Regions from separate parts of the Homo sapiens genome. Here region 1 is linked to region 2. The links are contacts of gene promoters, found by promoter capture Hi-C in blood cells and fetal thymus (Javierre and others, 2016). All regions are on one chromosome and are shown on one strand. The core of a region is centred on a gene start or on the middle of the fragment in contact, and the rest is flanking DNA. Distances in the headings are between cores, read along the strand shown.

What was found. Contacts are between HindIII fragments. The CHiCAGO score rates a contact against its expected background, and 5 or more counts as called.
Region 1: a fragment that was not itself captured here is called in contact with the fragment with the promoter of SLC4A4 in region 2 in 1 of 17 cell types (total CD8 T cells); the score reaches 5.0 in total CD8 T cells.

The regions. Positions count from the first base shown.
Region 1 is chr4:70,986,959-70,989,708 of GRCh38, forward strand. It overlaps MOB1B (MOB kinase activator 1B), which reads left to right. Exons shown (of 6, transcript NM_173468.4): 6 at 1-1,210. Among named protein-coding and RNA genes, the nearest start is that of DCK, 5.3 kb to the right of the region's middle. The HindIII fragment of the contact is 3,316 bases long and covers 1-2,750 here.
Region 2 is chr4:71,185,984-71,188,849 of GRCh38, forward strand. It overlaps SLC4A4 (solute carrier family 4 member 4), which reads left to right and starts at 1,276. Exons shown (of 26, transcript NM_001098484.3): 1 at 1,276-1,418. It overlaps LOC124900712 (a long non-coding RNA gene), which reads right to left and starts at 541. Exons shown (of 2, transcript XR_007058133.1): 1 at 1-541. The HindIII fragment of the contact is 10,115 bases long and covers 1-2,866 here.

The DNA of each region.
Region 1 (2,750 bases), core at 37-2,536, 200 kb before region 2:
TGAGTTTTGCAAATGTAATAACTTTTTCTGCATATAGAACTAAATAATTGAAAAATATGGGCTATAGTTCTCAAAGGTAGATAGTAAAATCACTGGCTTTTTCCAGCTGTATGTTTTTCCACTGTGCGTGTACACACACACTGGAAAATAATTAGGCTGATTTTGCAGGTCTTCATTGTTAGAGATTCTGAAGTATTTACTGTCAATTCATAGGTTTCAGTTTATTTAGGAAATTAGTGTTTGACAGCTTTTTTTAAATTATTTCACTGAAGCTGAGATTATTAGTGATACAAAGTTAAAATTTCAATATTTAATTTCTCTATATATTATTAATATTAAATTGTTTTTTACTTATAAATTCATGTTCTCATCTGATTTAATATTAAATTTGTATAGGTGGGCGTTTCTTACCATTTTGCACAAGTTTTTGTTTTTCTGAAATACTTAATTGTGCAGGTTGTAAAAAAGATTAGTGCATTTTCATTTTAAGGATGCTTTGCTCCTTAAATTGTTCGACAGAAATGACTTTTTAGGGAAAGTAGTTTTTTTGGAGCTACTAACTTGTATTTATTATTGTACATGCATAACCAGGGTGGTGAGGGCACTAATCTTGTAGGAAACACTTACTTGATGTTTTATTTGAACTTTTCCTATAGGTTTAACTTTTACTGCATAGAATTAACACTAGGAACAGTGTCATGAAATCTGGGTTGAAGGAGAATACAGTATATATGAGAACACTTAAAGTTCAAATAGAAATCATTTCTGAAGACAAAAGCAGAGGAATATTGTCAGTGCCAAGTAATGGAAGAATAAGGGCGGCATTTACACTGTGCAAGTATTGAGAAGAGTGCATAAAGACAGGGAACTACTCTCATGGAGACAGTTTCTCTCTTATAATCAAGTAACTAGAAGGGGAAAAATCATCTAAGTTATGAAATCCAACATAGGCGCTATATTACAAACTGTGCCGGATTATGCAAATTGTAGTTGTTACTGATCAAAGTTTAATTGCTTCATTTTTGTTTAAAAAGGGATACTGATGTCAGAAAATCTGTAATATGTTTTATTCAAAAGATGTAAATAATGTATACAGACTTGTATGTGATGGGATGGGAAATATTTAAATTCTAGGTGTTTTTTTTTTTTTAAAGAAGAAACTCAATGTTTATAAGAAAAAAATGAATAAATAGTTACGTTTGGCCATGAATCCTGACTTTGCATTACTGTTTATTTTTGCTATAGGCATTCCCACACTAAACACATTCCAAGGGAAATATTGATGGCATATGGAATATGTTGAACATTTAAAATTTGTTAGGCACTATTTTCTGTAATGTTCACAACAACCAGTGTCTTAACATCTTAGAAAACTAAAGCTCAGAAATTGTACAAGTCACTGATTTGGATTACGGTTTTAAAACCCTACTGTGTCTGAACTTGAAACCAGTGTTTCTGTTTTACTTTTTTCACTTTTTTCTTTATTCTGCAGTATGCAGGTGTATGTTTTCTATAATATATACTATTACAGTGAGAACAGTTAGCACAGTAATAATCATTTGTTGACCTCTTCACCAAGCTATTATTTAATATTTTGTCTTCATTACAGATCATTAAGGAATATTAATAATATTGGAGAATCATTTACCAAGTTCCAAAAGGAAATGTGTATTTTATTTTATTTTATTTATGAGACGGAGTCTTGCTCTGTTGCCCAGGCTGGAGTGCAATGGCACGACCTCAGCTCACTGCAACTTCCACCTCCTGGGTTCAAGTGATTCTCCTGCCTCAGCCTCCCAAGTAGCTGGGATTACAGGCATATGCCACTATGTCCGGCTAATTTTTTGTATTTTTAGTAGAGACAGGGTTTCACCATGTTGGCCAGGCTGGTCTCAAAACTCCTGACCTAAGGTGACCCATGAGCTTTGGCTTCCCAAAGTGCTGGGATTATAGGCGTGAGCCATCGCGCCTGGCCAAAACGTGTATTTTAGAAGTCTTCTCAGAGTATCAGAAGTATTTATGTTAGAGGCATTTGTGTTTGAATCTTCAGGTTAAGAATATTTAATGGTAGTAGCCACAGTTGCTCAAAGTCACTAATGGTATTTGGGAGAAAGACTAGTTGAAATGCTAGCCAATGCTGTTGTGGACTGTGTCTGCATGCTTTAAAAACGCCCTGTGGGCCGGGCGCGGTGGCTCACGCCTGTAATCCCAGCACTTAGGGAGGCCGAGGTGGGCGGATCACGAGCTCAGGAGTTGAGACCTGCCTGGCCAATGTGGGGAAACCCCATCTCTACTAAAAAATACATTAAAAAATTAGCCGGGCACGGTGGCGCTTGCCTGTTGTCCCAGTTACTCGGGAGGCTGAGGCAGGAGAATTGCTTGAATCCGAGAGGCGGACTGTGCCACTGCACTCCAGCCTGGGCGACAGAGCAAGACTCCGTCTCAAAAAATAAAAAAATAAAAACACTCTGTTATTCATTTATTGTGTGTAAAGAAATATATATTGTAAAATTACCTACATTTTGATAATTAGGTTCATTTACCTCTGTTGTACTAAATGTATTATAAGTTGTTAATCCCTTATATAACATCTGCAATGAGCATTTTGCAACACAAAGATTCTAATTAATTATTCCTCTAAGGTTTAAACAACCATGTTTAGTAGAAGTTTTACTAAGAAATTGTACATGCTCCTGTTACAGCATGATGAATACAGTGTCACATTTTCTTGATGACCTCAGTCCACTTCA
Region 2 (2,866 bases), core at 26-2,525:
CATGTGGTTGCAATCCATTAAGTGACTACTCTCTAGCAGTACCCAGAACAATAGATGGTGTGTCTGTGCTGACAGTCTGTTCATATCTTAATGGTTTACTTATGATTCAATAGTTTACCAATGGCAATGGTGCTGGATCACTGATATATTATTTGCTTGGCAAAGAGTACTTGAACCTCATTATTAGACTTAGGAACAGAATAAATACAAATAATCACTTTGCTAAGGCTGTTTTCCTAACTCCCAAGGAAGACAGAAAGGCATCAGTGACATAAGTGAAGGACACAGTTGACAACCACGTTATCTTCAGACATCTTTTGTTAAAGGTGAACAATTACTTAATACTGTGTTATGGCAGCACTCTATACGCCCCAAGTTTTATAAAGTAGAGTCAAGAGTGATCTGAGCTGGGAAACTCACGCAATTTTAGTTCTGCATGAAAGCACAGGCTCTCCCCACTGGGGAACTCTTTTGAGTAGGACAAAAAGCTGGACCTAGGACCCAGCCCAGGGCGTGAGAGAAAAGGAACCTGGGAGGCAAGAGCGGCCGGTCCGGAGCCGGGTCCTCCGCCAGCTCCGGGCGGGCGCTGCGCACAGAGCCCAAGCCCCCGGCGGAGGCGGCGCGGCTCGAGGCCCCTCCCCGCCGCCGATGCCCGGGCGGCTGACGCCGAGCAGCGGCCCGGAGCGGTGGGGGCCGGGCTGGCGGGCACGAGCGAGGGCAGGGCAGGGGGCCGGCCGAGGCCACTTACGGCTTTAAATATGGATCGCAGGCTCGCGCTCGCGGCACAGCCTCCGCCGCGGCCGCCTTCCGTGAGCCCCCGCACCCCGGCTTGCTCCCGAGGGGCGCCTGGGCTGGGCTCCACTGCTGCAGTGTTAGTTACTAGCAGGAACATCAGAGATCCCCATAAATATGCAGGAGCTGCAGGAGGCAAAGTAGAGTAGACGCCCGCGCTCTTACACACTCGCTCGCCGCGCACCACACAGGCTGTGTAGACATCCCCCCGCGCCACCTTTCCCCTTTCCTCGCGGGCCGTTCAGGTTGCAGTCCTGCCTGCTCCGAAGACCCTCCCGCCCCAGCGCCTTTGCCCCGCTCTCCCGCGCTCGCCTCTCTCCGGAGCGCGCACCCACCCAGGCGGCAAAGTTGTGACTACTTGGGCGCGGGTGACTGGCGCCCCGCTCGCTCCGCGCCCGGCGCAGACAACTTCCCGCGGCTCGGCCCCGCCGCGTCCCGGGCTCGCGCCTCCAGGGATTCCGCGGCCCCCCAGCCTCCAACCCCGGCGGCGCGCCGGGCAGCGCTTCGGTGGCGGCGGCGGCCGCGGTGGCAGCGAAGGCGGCGGCGGCGGCGGCAGTGGCAGTGGCCGCTGCAGCCCCACACTCCGCCGCCAAACTGGAGGAGCGACGGAAGCCAGACCCCAGGAGGTGAGCGCCCGGCCCCGGCAGCTGCCGGGAGGGTCGATGGGGTCCCTCGCTCCAAGGCGGAGGCGGGCGCGGGCCCGGGGGCCGATTCCGTAGGGCGCGCAGGCGGCCTCAGCGCGCTCCTGGGAGGGAGAGAGAGGTCAATTGCGGGCCGGGCATCCCCTGAGCTGGGCGCGGGCGGTGTGTGGAGGCTGCTTCCGCGGAAAAGTATTTTTTTTCCTTCTTAGGGTTTAGAGGAAGAGTTTGGGTGGTCTGCTTCTCCCTCACTGCTAAGTCCCCTGCGCGCAACTGGGCGTCTTTACGAGGACTGCGGGGCCAGTTCTGCGGCGGGCTGGGCTCGGGCTCAGTGACACGTGTGTTGCTGTGAGCCTGGGTGGTCGCCCTGTGACCAGGCACCTGCTTGAGAGGAACACATCCCTAAACCCATCACAGGGGGAGATTTGGGGACTCTTGGTGCTACCGAGGCCGCGGCCCCCACTTCACTGCCAGCTCCAGGACGGAGCATTTACATCTCTCCCTGGCACGCCAAAGGCGGGGGGTGAGTCAGGCAGATTCTCTGCAAGTGGCACACACACATTTATTTGCAATGGATTTGGCTAGGGGAGGCATAGGTTAAACTGGAATTTCTCTTGGCCAGCGACAACGGAGCTCTCCCTCAGGTACTGGGCAGCATGTGAGTCTTGGCAAAGAGAGGTGATTTCTTTTTTCTTAAGTGCATTTTACTCAGCCGTTGCCAGTCCGTTAATAAGTCACCAGAGGAAGGCAGGACCTGGGAACTACATCAGCAAACCGCAGCAAGCACCATAAAGACAAAAGTTCTTATAGAACAAAAAGAAAAACTTGAACTTGACGTGAAAGATGGAGGAAGCAGTTCTACCTCTCTTCTATCACTTTTTTCAGCGCCCTGTAAAACTGTTTTTTTCTATCCTTCCTTCCCTCTCAAGGCCCTACCTTCTCAGCATAATTGATCGCAGCAAGCTCTTTCCAACTTGACACTGAAGAGCAGCGACCCCTTTGGCTTACCCTCCCCATTTCTTTTCCTGGTTCGCTTCAGTGCCCTGGAAAGTTGCTCCTAATGAGAAATCAAGAACACTGGGCTGTACTAAACGCTCATTGTCTCAAATCCTGCAGCAGTTCCTTTCCTAAGAGACACTGTGTTGTACTGTATTTCTCTTTTTTCTTGTATCTTGGGACTTGGAGTTGTAATACTACCTGAATTAAATTAATTAAAGTGTACATTGCTCATTTGGGCTTTTTTTTTTCATTGTGATTTCAGTAGATTCGTCAATGCCATTAGAACAATATTCAGTAGCTTTTTATAGCCAATGTGATGTCTTTTGAAAACGTTTCTGACTACAGCTCTCTTTCTTGTGTCTTTCATATTAGCATGTAAATAATTTACATGGTCATTTTAGTACTTAGACTGAAGATATTAGTATAACTTCATTCAA